Regions from separate parts of the Homo sapiens genome. Here regions 1, 2, 3 and 4 are each linked to region 5. Evidence: promoter capture Hi-C in 16 types of primary human blood cells and fetal thymus (Javierre and others, 2016). All regions are on one chromosome and are shown on one strand. Each heading gives the region's core, a stretch centred on a gene start or on the middle of the fragment in contact. The rest is flanking DNA. Distances are from core to core; before and after follow the strand shown. Region 1 overlaps LDLRAD4 (low density lipoprotein receptor class A domain containing 4). Region 2 overlaps LDLRAD4 (low density lipoprotein receptor class A domain containing 4). Region 3 overlaps LDLRAD4 (low density lipoprotein receptor class A domain containing 4). Region 4 overlaps LDLRAD4 (low density lipoprotein receptor class A domain containing 4). Region 5 holds the start of FAM210A (family with sequence similarity 210 member A).

Region 1 (2,700 bases), core at 143-2,642, 350 kb after region 5:
AGCTCCAAAGGTGATTCTGATGCACGGCTGTTCTGGGAAAGCGAAGATCCAGACCAGAGCTTCCTGAGATTAAGGTGCCTGCAAATTCCGGGGATGTGGTGACTGCAGATTCGGTTCAGCAGGTCCGGGGCAGGGCCCAAGAGGCTGCATTTCCAACCAGCTCCCAGGGGATGCTGATGCTGCTGGGGACCACATCTAATTAGTGAGATTCTAGACTCCAGGTTCTTTGGCTCTAGAACCTTCTCCACAGACCAACAATGGACAGACAGCCACTCCTGCATGAGAGCTTGCTCCCATCGGCAGCCTGCAGTCCATGACCCAGCTCTGGCCTCCACAGGAGACTGTGTGGGGTCAGGGCTGAGAGGGCTCCGGCCTCCATAGGAGCCTGTGTGGGGTCAGGGCTGGGAGGGCTCTGGCCTCTGCAGCATCCTCTGCTACCTGTGCTATCCCAAGAGACGACCTATGTGGGTCAGAAGGTAACAAAACAGCCAACATTTACGTGTAATTATCAGGGACACATGACATCACCTCCAAGTGTGATTTCTCTAAAAGGTAAAAGCAAATTCCACGTGGTTGAGGATCAAACGTACACATTTTTTCTAAATATTTCACACATTTCCACACGTTTGCATGGTGGAAATATGTGAAATATTTAGAAAATATTTATAAATGTAGACATATTATCAAAGAAGAATGGAACTGTACACGTGTCATTTTAAAAGAAATGAGAGAATTTTGGAAAACTCTGGAATTTATTATAAAAAATAACTAAGGTAGCTTTAAAATCCAGTCTAAATGAAAATGTACAAGGTAAAAGTATACTCCACGTTTCAGCTAAAAGTGTGCTGTGTCACAAAAAAGTAGCATTTATTTCTACACTGAACTGCAAAATACCACATAAACTGCCAGGTACTATTCAAAAGCAAGTTACTGATTTTCTATCCATTTTGCTTAAATATAAAAGGGGAGCTATTTCAGTTTGTTTTACTAAATACACTGTCTCCTTCAAAATGCATATATTAATCTCTGAAAATGAAAATATGAGCAAAGATCTCAACCATCAATCATTGAATTATAGTATAAGCTTACTTGAAAAAATAATCTTCTGATTCTAAAAATGCAAAAGAGGAAAAATCAATTATTTCATTAGTCAGCACACAAGCAACAAAGATAGCTAAGCGTTTCTGCACAATCCTATAACTGTGAGCAGCTAAAGAAAACATTGAACATACAGTCTGTGACGCACATTTTCATTCCACTGAAGCAAAAATACACATATATTTATACATATGTGTATAATGTCATACACAAACTTAAAAAAAGGCCATGAGTTGGTGTTGAGACCCAGTTGCTTTTTAGGTTCTCAAAGCGTATAAAGCCAGAGCGCTACAACTGCTGCGATGAGAAAAGGAAATCAAAACAAGGGATTTCTGCCTTTGCTCAAAAGACACACACACACACACACACACATTAAACAGTTGTGGTAGAGGATGCCAAAGGAGTGTGAGCTGTTAAGAGTTCCATTAAAAATGATAAAAATAATTGGGAATAAATACAGAGATGTGCTTACACCCAGCTCCACTGAAATCTGTTAGTCTGCGAGACCCTAGCCAGAAAATCCGTTGTTGATATTTATTGTGTACATGTGTTTACTTTGAGTTTACATGAAGACGCAACTGGAGCCCAGACAGCAAGCTTCCCACAAAGGCCCAGATGGTGAACGGTTCTGCACAGGCCATGCCGCCTCGGCCCCTGCTCCTCTGCTCTGCCGAGAAGACAGGGACGCAGCCCCAACAGACAACACACAAACACATGGTGTGGCTACATGCCAATAAAACTTTATTAACACAGACAAGCCCTGCCCAGGACATGGAGCATGAACATGAAGTGCTGAGTACCGGACCATACCCTCCTCATCTTCAGTGCAATGTCTTATTCAACTTCCATTCCACAGCTTCAGGGAAGGGAGGGGAAAAACCCTGCAGAGCTGGCCTCATTTCAGTTTCTCAGTCACCCTGGAGGAACCTCCAGGACACCCAGACGGCCTAGCATTCCCAGCACGCCCATCCCAGCTCTGTACAGCTGCCACCAATTAACATAAATAATTGCTTGTTGTGTGCTGTTTTGTTCTCTGTATTTTTCTTGCATTCATCTTGTCTCTTTCATTTCTTCTAATAGTTCAAGGGCAAGGTGTTTTTATTTGCATTTTCCCTTAGAATTTAGCTTAGTGTTCAGCAAAAGATACTGCTGACGAGCAAATCCTCTCTTCCTCTCAAAAGGTAGGTAAAAGTAAGGCTAACCAGGAAAAAAACTACACCACCTTTACGTGTACCCCCAAGGCAACTGTGGTAGAGAGGAACAACCTCCAGGTCTGCCCTGCGAAGAACAGGTGCACAGGGGTGTGGCTGCCAGCACTTCCTGAGGGCAGGGACCGGCCTTTCTGATGGCATGCCTGGCAAGGGCACACGGCAGTGCTTGGTGAATTCGACAATAGATCAAGTGTGATGAAATATATGGTAAACTAACCTTTTACATTTGAGCAGAATTATGGCATTCAGGAATTAAAACTGCTCTTAAATATCATCAACTTTAACTCACCGTCCCATGTAAGTAGAAACCATGGCTTGAGTGTCTCTAGACACTCAAGGGCTGGGTCCAGAGCACAGTAAAAGCAGGGTAAACCTAATGCTGTTCTAAATG
Region 2 (2,700 bases), core at 2-2,501, 440 kb after region 5:
TGGGTGGCAAAGCAAGACCCTGTCTCTAAAAATAAATAAATAACAAAACTCTATAGTTTGACCCTAACTTTCTTTTCCAACTGTATCTCTAGCTCTCGTCTTCCTGTTCCAAGGACAACATAATATGAGTCAGCTTTAAAATGGAAGGAGATTCTGAGATAGGCTCCAATGTGTGTGAACCCTGAAGACTTTATGCTAAGTGAAATACACTAGACACAAAAGGACAAATACTGCATGATTCCACTTATGAGGTATGTAGAGCAGTCAAAATCATAGAGACAGAAAGTAGAACCATGGGTGTCAGCGGCTGGAGGGAGAGGGAATGCAGAGTTAATGTTTAATGGGTACACAGTTTTGGTTTGGGAAAATGGAGAGAGTTCTGGAAATGGATGGTGGTGATGGTTGCACAACGTGAATGTACTTAATGCCACAGAACCGTACGCTTAAAAATGGTTAAAATATACTGTTTCCATAGCAACTGAACCATTTTACATTTTTTCCAGCAACACAGAAGGGTTCCAACTTCTCCACATTATGTATATCTTACCACAGTTTTTTTTAAAGGGACAAAAAGTTTGAGAAACAAAGTTAACAGTGTGCTGTGAAAGCTGAGTTGAAGGACTGGCTTGAGTTTCCCCCACCATTCTCTAACAAGGGTGCAGCCTTGACTTCCCTACCACAACCCCCGAGTTTCAAGAAAGACATGGAAAAATGTGGACAGCCCCAGCAAACCAGATCCCAGGACAAAAAGAGGGAAACTGTTAAAGCGTCAGGCTAAGCAGACAGACCCCAGACCCCTTGTGCACAGCGGAACCCTCTCCCAAGCACTGAGCTCACTAAGCTAACCCAGCATCGCCACGAAGCCTCCTGCAGGAAGCACGCCAACTTTAAAATATTATATGAATTTCAAGAAGAAAGCCTACAAAGGAAAAGCCCAGCAGACACCTCCAATGGCCCCCATGTTAAGTTACACAATTGACAACAGAATCCTGTCCCCTGACTGTCCTCGGCAAGCCTGTCCATGTCACCCTCTGCCCACTCATGACACCTCCAATCTGACCATCACTGAAGTGACTGCCCCAAGCCAAATGAACCACACACCTTGTGCTCCACTGCAAGTGCTCTTAACCCTTTCTGGAGGTCAAAACCCTCCTGAGAATCCTATCAAAGCCCTGGCATTCTCCCCAGGAACTGGCAACATTTCAAGGAATTCACAGATGCCCCTGGGCCCCTGGGGCTTACAAACACTGTCCCAGTGCCTGTCTCCTTCACATTTCGCTTCTGTACTGCACTTGAGAGGGACGCTGCAACCTCCCTCCATTTGTAAGAACTATATAACAAATTTCAAGAATCCCTCAGGACTCTCTTTGAAAGGGCAGCCCACGCCCCCAACCAATGTCAGGACGTCAAGGGGAGGTCGTCTCACATCGGCTTGAGAGGCACAGCCCGTCCGACATGCCACATCCCCAAAGGACGCCCCTCCCTGCGACTGCCCTCACAGATGCACTGATGTGACTTATGGGGACTGCTGCGATGCAGTCTGTTAACACTGGCACCAGCTGCCACGGGCGAGTCATCTCAGGAACCTGACCTTGGCAAAGCGTGTTTCACACTCGAGCACAGCTCATCCGGGTGGCCTCGAGCAGGGGCAGGAAGGCGGAAAACGGACAGGGAGGTGCTGGGGTGCACTGCCCCCCAAACCGCACCAGAGGACTCACCTCACCCACACAGGGAGACCAAATCCTCAAAGCCAAATTTTCAAGCTGCTGCTGAGAATCCCATAAAAAGCAATGCTATTTCTAACCTCCCGCACCACGGAAAAATACACACACCACCAAGCAACCCAGAATCTGAGGGTTTATTTTTACATCTTTTCCCCACATCCCCCACCCTGGCCTCCCCCACAAAATTTTAGGTGGAAAATTTGCTGGCTTTTTAGCAGTTTGACAATGCTGTGCTAGGCATGAACTGACGGAGCTGCTAGCGCATTTGAGTTTAAAGCAAAGCGTCAAAGTATTTATCCCATATGACTCCACAGGTCTGCTTGATGAGAAACTAATAAACTCTAATCACAGAAGACAGAATCCAACAAGCAGGCGGAGACGAGGCCCAGGTCTCAGGCCATGGGCAGAAGTGGCAGAGGTGGTAAGTTTCTCTTTCCCACCTCTGAAAGTGGTGTTCCCACCACGGGACTTTCTTCCTGCGGGCTGGCATTCTCTAATCCAAACTATGAACAAGGGCATTCGGCATCCCTGATGCCCTTGCTGCATTTCTGATTTTCTCAATGCCACTCTTAACCCTTGATTTGGTTTGGCTGTGTTGCCACCCAAATCTCAACTTGAATTGTATCTCCCAGAATTCCCACATATCGTGGGAGGGACCCAGCGGAAGGTAATTGAATTATGAGGGCCTTTCCTGTGCCATTCTCGTGATAGTGAATTAGTCTCACGAGATCTGATAGGTTTGTTTCTGCTTTTGCTTCTTCCTCATTCTCCCTTGCTGCCGCCCTGTAAGAAGTGCCTTTTGCCCTCAGCCACGATTCTGAGGCCTCCCCAGCCATGTGGAACTGTAAGTCCAATTAAACCTATTTTCTTCCCAGTCTCGGGTATGTCTTTATCAGCAGGGTGAATATGGTCTAACACAGTAAATTGGTATCAGTAGAGTGGAGCACTGCTGAAAAGATACTCGAAAATGTGAAAG
Region 3 (2,700 bases), core at 105-2,604, 260 kb after region 5:
ATCCCAGAGAGCTGGCTGGCCCCTTCCACCATGTGAAGATATAACAAGAATGTTCCATCTATGAACCAGGAAACAGGCCCCCACCAGACACAGAATCTGGTGGTGCCCCGATCTCAGACTTCCGACCTCCAGAACAATGAGAAATAAACCTCTGTTGTTTACAGGCCACCTCGTATATGGTATTTTGTTAGAGGCACCCAGCTGGACGAGGACATGCCTTTTATCTTGTTGAAGAAGTTCCTTCTATTTCTAGGTTTTTGTGTGTTTTTATAATCAAAGAAGGTTAAGAGTTTGTCAAATGCCTTTTCTGTGTCTATTGAGAAGATCTCATTTTTTTTCTTTCATTCTATAAATGTGGTATATTATATTGTTTGATTTTCCTTTTTTTTTTTTTTTTGGTGAAACAAGGTCTCACTCTGTGACCCAGGCTGGAGTGCACTGGCATGATCACAGCTCACTGCAGCCTCAACCTCTTAGGCTCAGGTGATCCTCCCACCTCAGCCTCCCAAGTAGCTGGGACCAAAGGGACCCGCCACCACCCCCAGCTAATTTTGTATTTTTTGTAGAAACAGGCTTTTGCCATGTTGCCCAGGTTAGTCTTGAACTCCTGGGTTCAAATGATCTGCCCACCTCAGCCTCCCAAAGTGCTGGGATTACAGGCCTGAGCCACCGTGCCCAGGCCTGATTTTCTTATGTTGAACAATTCCATTATCCCTGAAAGAGACAACTAATTGCAAACTATGTGTTACTATATGAAAATTATGCTCGGAGCACCATTTTAAAGATTACTTCATTATTTCATTCAAGATATATTTATTTTGCACCCAGGCATTATTTTGAGCACCGAAGGCACAGCCTGGACTAAACAGTTATCTCTGCCCTCCTGGAGTAACACTCTGAGAGGAGAGACAGATAGTAAGTGAGACAGGTAAAATATATAGTTAGTGATAAGGAAAATAATATGGCAAAAAAGGGGGAGAGAGTATGAAGAGGCTGAGATTCTAGACAAGAGAGGCCTAACTTACAGCATTACGGTTTATACACATGTCCACAACTCAGCATTGCTTTCAAAATAGGAACACTTTATTAGTAAAGAGGAAGAAATTGCCTAAACAGACTCAGTGTCTTTCCCATAACAATCATCTGCCAAGCCGCAGGCCTAACCAGGAAATCCCATTTCCTTTTGGCGTTGTGTCCTCCACCAACAGATACAACCCTGATGCCAAATGTTGTATGGTTTGTAGGTGTTGTGAGCCAATGAGGGCATGCCCAGGGCCAAAGGCTGCCCTTTGGAATGAGGGCAAGGTCGTAGACTCCATCAAACAACAAATGCATCCTCCTCCAAAATCAAATGCTCAACACATGCAGCCTTTCGTATGCCCATCTCCCCTTTACTCATTTTCATGGCTGAAAATCATCAGGATGGGCATTTGTCCATAACTCCTACAGGTTAATTTCCTGACATGATATGAGCCTTTAAGAAGTTATAAAGGGTTACATCATCTTTTCATTTCTGACACCAATATACTAACAGAACTTGAACACAGCCATCTGACCTTCAGAATCAATGAAACACGCAGCCTGAGAATAAAGAGAGGGCGTGCTGTTTGGTAACCTGACTTCAACACCTAAGCAACCACTAAGTGTGCCTGAGCCGATGCACAGAAATAAAAGGAAAATAAAGTCAGATTTTAAAAGCCAGATGTTATGCAGGTTAAACACAACCTCATTTAAATTCCGAAATCACAAGATACTTACTAACAGCGATGGAGCCGTGAACAGAGCACTCCCTGGAGAGGCCCCCATTTAGCTCTGCGGCCTCGCGCCATCGTTTCCGGTGGGCAGCACCCCTCTTGGCTCGCTCCCTTCCTCCCGGCTCCTGCCACAGCAGACAGGAAGCACTGTGTGAGCAACAGGAAACCTGCACTTCCTTGTCTTGTGCACCGGCCAACCAATTAGCATGTCACCATGAGGGGCAGATGCACATGAATATGGAGCACGGAGCCTCATTTTTCTGTTCAGTCTGTCAAGCCATGAATTCACTCATCCCATTTTGTCCTAAAACCTTGGGGTGGGGGTGGGGGTGGGGGCTGAAGGGAAGGAGGGTTTCAAAAGCCCCATCTACAGCGATGTGAAAAAAAAAAAAAAAAAAGTCAGGCTCTGTCAGCCCTAAAGGGCATTTCTAAGAGCAATGGCACCATCTTTCCACATTCAGGTGCACTTCCCTGTGGAAGGTTCTAGACACACGGTGGCCCCTCAAATTATTCCCTGTGGCAGACAGTGGTATTGTCACATCTGCTATCCACTTGTGTAAAGAAAAAGGAAGACCTGATCTAAGAGTTTTGAGGCTGAAAGATATAGCAGGTATAACCAGATATTTAATATGAAAAACCCAAGTATCTAAATGAGATTATTAGTTGACATAAGCTCCGATAAAGGTACAGAAATGAAAATATGCAATGCCTAATTCTACTGATCAGATTAGAGCAATTTCTATAGAAAATTACTATTCTTTGCTCACAACACAGTTTAAAGCAATGTAAACACATCCCTATTGCTACTGTGCCCAAATACTTCTCTGCTGAGCTATTAGCCATCGTTTCATTTTATAAAAACCATAATAGAAAATGTGGCCAAACAGATAGATGGAGTGTTCCCAGCAATATGGAGAAACAGTTGTGTTTATGCAGAGATTAGTCT
Region 4 (2,792 bases), core at 81-2,580, 460 kb after region 5:
GCCCACGGGTCTGGCCAGGACTGCGGTGCTGGGCTTGCTTCAGAGCAGTTCCCTCTCCTCCACGGAGAAGCCATCGCCAGGCAGCGCCTGAGCGTGGAGGCCCTGCGGCAGCCTGCCTTCTGCCTAAGACGGTCACTATGCCAATTCAAAACAAAACAAAACATAACTGATTCCCAGCTGTGCCCAGTCCAAGCCCAAATCTGGAGAAGGCAGCCACCAGAGACCCTCGGAATCCTCCCGCCTCTGGACACCTGAGCCCCATGCCAGAAAGGAAAGGAAAGCCAAGCCCAGGGTTGGGTGCCTTCCTCAGCGGGCTGTGTCTGTTGTCCCCGAGACTGCTCCTGCCCACATCTGGCCACGGACCCAGTGCGAGGTACCAGGAGTTGTGCAGGAGGAATGAAGCCACGCCCTGCCCTCGAGGAGCTCCCAGGCTAGCTGTGAATGCAGGGCTGGAGGGCAGAGGGCTTATGCGGACTCTGTAGCAAAATGATCTTCTGTGTTCCTGGGTCCACAGGAAGAAGTCGGGGGAGCCCTAAAAACAAGCCCCGAAAAAGCCTTTGTTTTTAAGGTCTGGGCGAGTGCTACTCACTGTCCAAACTACAGAACAACCGTGTCAAGGAGCCCGCCATTCTTGCTAAAACACACGTTCACTGCCAGGCATCATCTAAGCTTCTGAGTCAGAATCTCTTGGGGTGGAGTCCAGGAATCCGTATTTTTAACAAGCTCCCCAGATAATGCTTAAACATATCGATGCTTAAAACCAGAGCTCTAAACCTAGATCGAGCAGATCCACGTGGGGGTGAGGAGGAGGCTGAGTGCTCAGGGGTGGGAGGAGAAGAGGGACCCACCCAGGGGAGGGCAAAGACCTCAGGAGTAGTGAGGAGGGGGCTGAGGAAGACCCCTGGAGGCCTGAGCTGTGTGCAGCAGAGTGGAGTCCCAGGGCCACCCCAACAGGAGATGACTTCAGCAGACCTTGAAGAAGATCTCAGCACCAGGCAAGCAGGACCCATGGCCAACGAAGCCCTGGGGAGTGGGGCCAGGTGTGACTGAGTGACAAGTCCTCGGAAACGTGCCTGGGGAGGACAGTCCCCAGATGACTGATATCAGCCACCCCATCTTTCTCAGTGAGTCAGGGATCAAAGGAGATTTATTTCTCAAGAAAAATGAAGAGATGTGGCACGCCTTGCTCCTGGGTGCATGGAGCTATTCATCCCTGTCACACGTTTTGACAAATTGCGATGAGCCCAGAAAAGGGCTCACCTGGGCAGCTGACATTTGTGCTGCAGGACAGAGAAAGCCATGCTCCAGGCAGCACAGTGGGAAGGGGGAGGGCTTCGAGTGTCCCCGGAGGAACTGAGTGAAATGGGGGCTGGAGACAGAGACCCCGTCCAGGCCACACAGGTAAGTTTGGCGTTGACCTTCAAAGCTACGCAGTGACAGGTCAGCCCTGCCACTAGGTGGTAAGGCGGTTCTCAGAACGAGGTCCTAGACCAGGAGTTTGGAAGGCGCAGGGAAGGATATGAGGAGGGGAGAGACGGCAGAGGCTGGAGGCAGGGCAGTCTGTTCAGAGGCTGTTGCAAAAGTCCAGGCAAGAAATGTTGAGAATTGAAGGCAGTGACCACAGCGGGAGGAAAGGAGCCATGTGGAAAACACTTAGAAGGTAGAATCACAGGCCTTGGCGACACAGTGGATGGATCAGGGAGCCAGGAGGGGGTCAGAACAGCACCAGGTTCTGGCTTGGGCAACTCAGCTTTAACTCAGGTAAAAGAAAAGAGAGAGCTCTTATATAATTTTACAGATCAATTTGCCAACGTCTTCCTCAACCTTGAAATACTGGAGTCTGTTTATAGGCCAGTTGCGAATCCTCCAGGTTCGGGAAGACTGTACTTGAAACGCTTTTATGAAACAGCACAGTTGTGAAATGCACCCATATGCTTTCTCCAGACACATTCTTCAACTACTCTTTTCAGCAATGCATCTCAGAAAGCTTCATCAACAAAATCAATCCAGATTCAGAATCCTGGAAGAAGGGAGAGGCTACGCAGAATCACCTCACACAGTCCAAAGAACAGCCATTTGCAGAGAAAAGCACAAAACCGTCTTCAACCTGCATGGCAGTCCCACATGGGAAGGAAGCACAGGACAACATCTACTCCGAAAAACAGGCTAGCGGCTTCCCTGCCAAGAATGCCATCACCTAAGCAATCGGGCTCAGAATATCTACACAGAGAAGTCAACTCCCCATTAGCTAAACTCATAAAGGGACACTGTGGAATTGAATGATGGTGAATACTTCAGAAACCATTCGTTCCTGGCTTTCTAAGCATTTTCCTGCACACTGTTGAACATTGGCCAAGCAACTGTCTAACGGTCTGCAGACACCCTTTGGAAAGAGCAGCAAGGCCTGCTCTGAGGATAACTCGGGGGCGGGGCTGGGAAGCCCTCCAGGTCTGCAGCCCCAGCTTCACTGGCCGTTGACGTAAAGCAGCCGCCTGGCAGGGCCACCTCCTCAAAGGACCCATCCTAGCCACTCAGGTCCATCCCGCAACCAGCCCCCACTCGCTCTTTCAAACGGTACCCACCCACCCACTCAACCAACTGCTCAACTCTGGGCCTGGAAAGGGACAGGTGGGGCCCAATCCACCAGAGGGGACAGGGCCGGGTCGTGTCCTGCCCTGCTCCATCATAGCCCCTCCCATGCCCCCAACAGACTTGCCCACCCCAGGGTTATATTAGTTTCATCCAAAATTCTTTTTTTTTTCTTTAATTAAATGGTACTTGAGGAACATAGA
Region 5 (2,700 bases), core at 22-2,521:
GTGGGAGCTAAAAATGTGGACCTGATGGAGGTAAAGAGTGGATTGGTGGTTACCACAGACTGGGAAGGGTAGCAGGAAGAGGAGCGGGATGAAGAAGAGAAATTGGTTAATGGGTACAAAAAACCCCAGAAGAAATAAAATCTAGTGCCTGATAGTACAGTGGGGTGGACACAGTTAACAATAACTTATTGTGTAGTTCAAAATAGCTAAAAGAAAAATTGGAATGTTCCCAACATAAAGATAAATGTTTGAGATGACAAATATCCCAATTGCCCTGATTTAGTCGTTACACATTGTATGCATGTATCAAAGTATCACCTGCACCTGCAAATATGTGCAACTTCTATGTATCAATTTAACAAATTGGGGGAAAAAAAACCCAAACCAAACTCAAAGTGGAATAATGAAAACACTCCATAGGGAAGAGAGCTGTCCCTCAGAATCTTCAAGAAACCTTCGAAAGGTGGTCGACTGACATGGAGATGGACACGCGATAAATAACCACACGAACATTTCGACCCGGCTTTCCAGTCACACCTCCGAAGCAAGCTATGTCTCTGCGTCATTTCAGCTCCTCAGGGTACGAGCGAGCAGGCCGCCAGGGCCGCCGGGATAAAGCCCAAGCGGGATAAGCTCTAAGTCCCGACCCGCCCGCTTGACCCTCTACCACGGGGCCCGAGAGGACGCACAGAGGCGAGAAGGGACTTCTCCAGCCAAGTTCACCCCCTCCGTCATTAGCGCGGCCTGTTACTCAACCTCTGGTTCAGGTTTCCGAAGCGCCGCTGAAGACAAACCTGCGGACCCCACGCCCCTCCCCAGCACGGCCCTGGGGCGCGAGCTGGAGCAGCTCTTCGAGCTGCTTCTCCCACCCGGGCTCGCCCAGTCTGGAGGAGGAACAGCGCCCGCCCACCCCAAGGAGTTCCCATTTTCCTTGGGACTGAGGACACAAGGCAATAGACCCACGCGTTGGGTAGTGAAGCACAGGGCTAATGCGAAGTGAGCCCATGTCAGGGGTGGGAGTGCCAGTTCCACCCCTCCACGGCGGCCGAGGGACAAACACAAAGAAAGGAAGGGCCGGAGTTCCAGCCGTCACACTCACCAGCACAGCCAAACGCGATTCTGTTTGCGGAAACGGCGGCCCGCGCCACGCGTGTCTGCTTACGTCACTTCCGGAGGTGCGAGAGTCACGTGGAGACGGTCAGGCGAGAGTGCCGCGACGCACGTCCTCCGCGCCGGAACTACGAGTCCCGACGTGCCGCGCGCGGCATGCAGAAGCTTCACTGAGCGGGCACTGGAGGTCGCGAGCACGTTGCTAGTGGGCGCGGCTGGCGGGGCCGGGGGCGGCAGGGGGCTAGCGTCCGGCTGAGCCCGGCGGGTTCCTGCACGCGGACCCACGCTTTGTCGGGCTGCTCTGCTGAGTGACACCGCCGTGGCATCCGAGGAGCTGTGGTCCAGCCTGCGCGGCGGGAAGCGGCGGCGGCGGCTCCAGCGTCCTAAGAGGTAGCATGGGCCCAGGCCTCTGTGGGGCAGCGGGAGGGGTCTAGAGGGCACCTTCAACCCTGGGCGTGTGTCCGGGAGCTGACTCGCGGCGCGAACCCGGCAACTGCTCCGCGTGCGCCGCTCTTCGGGCTGTGGCAGTGTACGACTGCCAGACGGGTCGTCCACACTCGCCGACCCCACAGACCCCGGCGGCCGAGAGAGGTCCCCCCGCCCTTCCGGGTCGAGCCAGTGTCCTGGCAAATCTTGCTTTGGGACTGTTTTTCAGCCTCCTTTGCTGTAACCCTTCACCGTGTTCTCCCCCCTTCTTCCGAAGCCAGTTGAAGAGGGGCCCGGAAGCGCCCGCGTTCGGAATGGTTTTTAAAATTAGCAATTTCTTATTAGGGACTGGCAGACTGGTCCTTACCGCCGTGTTTGGGAAGCCACAAGAGGCCATTCTTACCTGTTAGATTCTGAGAAAAGGGACCGCCTATACCTCTTCTTGACAAATACCTAAGGATGCATTAGTCTGCGTTGGCTGAACTTGGCATGGTGTGGTTTGGGGGAGACAACACACTTTTTTTGGCCATCACCCCAGATTTCTACTGGGGAGTGAAAGCGCCTACTGTACTGAAACTCGAAAGCTCCATAGTTGAGGACTTTCAACCTGAGATCAGGGTCAAAACTACCTGTGGATAGATTATTGAAGCGTGTGCATATTAACGTCGTGCGTCAAGTCCCCACCTTCCAAGGTTGTAAAACTGATCAGATTTACAATCCGTCTTGAATTACTCTTTACCAAAATTGATCCATTTAAAACAGCTTTGAAAATGTGCTTTACCAGCCTTCCTTCTTGTCAGTAGGCACAGGTATATTAATGAATAGACCTGGCTTTGGGGAAGGCAGCATTTGCAGCGTTGTGCTTTCCAATCTAATCACTTCTAAATTGTGGGCATTAGCCCATTTGAGGTTACAAACTTTGAACCAAGAATGAGGCCTATTTTTCACAAATAAGGATGACCCATCAATTTCTGATGACTGCTTGTATTTGTTATTATATGAAATGAGGTAAGTTGAGAATTAATCTCATTACATGAATATTGACAACTGCAAAAGTGTAGGTCTTACAGATCGAATGCATTATAGGCATATACAAGCATTAGAACCAGGCAATTACATTCCCTGTTCCTGATGCTTAAGTTTCTTGAGATAATTGCTGTTGTA

Evidence for each region. The method cuts DNA at HindIII sites, captures the fragments that hold promoters and counts their contacts. A CHiCAGO score of 5 or more calls a contact.
Region 1: a fragment that was not itself captured here is called in contact with the fragment with the promoter of FAM210A in region 5 in 2 of 17 cell types (naive CD4 T cells and non-activated CD4 T cells); the score reaches 6.8 in naive CD4 T cells.
Region 2: a fragment that was not itself captured here is called in contact with the fragment with the promoter of FAM210A in region 5 in 1 of 17 cell types (naive CD4 T cells); the score reaches 5.8 in naive CD4 T cells.
Region 3: a fragment that was not itself captured here is called in contact with the fragment with the promoter of FAM210A in region 5 in 1 of 17 cell types (naive CD4 T cells); the score reaches 5.0 in naive CD4 T cells.
Region 4: a contact is called between a fragment that was not itself captured here and the fragment with the promoter of FAM210A in region 5, in 1 of 17 cell types (activated CD4 T cells). The highest score is 5.6, in activated CD4 T cells.

Annotation. Positions count from the first base shown.
Region 1 is chr18:13,371,926-13,374,625 of GRCh38, reverse strand. The region is part of intron 2 of LDLRAD4 (low density lipoprotein receptor class A domain containing 4); the gene reads right to left. Among named protein-coding and RNA genes, the nearest start is that of LDLRAD4-AS1, 54 kb to the left of the region's middle. The HindIII fragment of the contact is 611 bases long and covers 1,087-1,697 here.
Region 2 is chr18:13,283,717-13,286,416 of GRCh38, reverse strand. All of the region lies in intron 2 of LDLRAD4 (low density lipoprotein receptor class A domain containing 4), which reads right to left. Among named protein-coding and RNA genes, the nearest start is that of C18orf15, 46 kb to the right of the region's middle. RefSeq lists an enhancer at 1-101. The HindIII fragment of the contact is 5,261 bases long and covers 1-2,700 here.
Region 3 is chr18:13,464,170-13,466,869 of GRCh38, reverse strand. The region is part of intron 4 of LDLRAD4 (low density lipoprotein receptor class A domain containing 4); the gene reads right to left. Among named protein-coding and RNA genes, the nearest start is that of LDLRAD4-AS3, 5.5 kb to the left of the region's middle. The HindIII fragment of the contact is 3,094 bases long and covers 1-2,700 here.
Region 4 is chr18:13,263,953-13,266,744 of GRCh38, reverse strand. The region is part of intron 1 of LDLRAD4 (low density lipoprotein receptor class A domain containing 4); the gene reads right to left. Among named protein-coding and RNA genes, the nearest start is that of C18orf15, 26 kb to the right of the region's middle. RefSeq lists an enhancer at 272-834. The HindIII fragment of the contact is 1,318 bases long and covers 672-1,989 here.
Region 5 is chr18:13,725,129-13,727,828 of GRCh38, reverse strand. It overlaps FAM210A (family with sequence similarity 210 member A), which reads left to right and starts at 1,271. Exons shown (of 4, transcript NM_152352.4): 1 at 1,271-1,500. RNMT (RNA guanine-7 methyltransferase) reads right to left here and starts at 1,156. Exons shown (of 12, transcript NM_003799.3): 1 at 1,100-1,156. RefSeq lists an enhancer at 1,168-2,093. The HindIII fragment of the contact is 3,253 bases long and covers 1-1,277 here.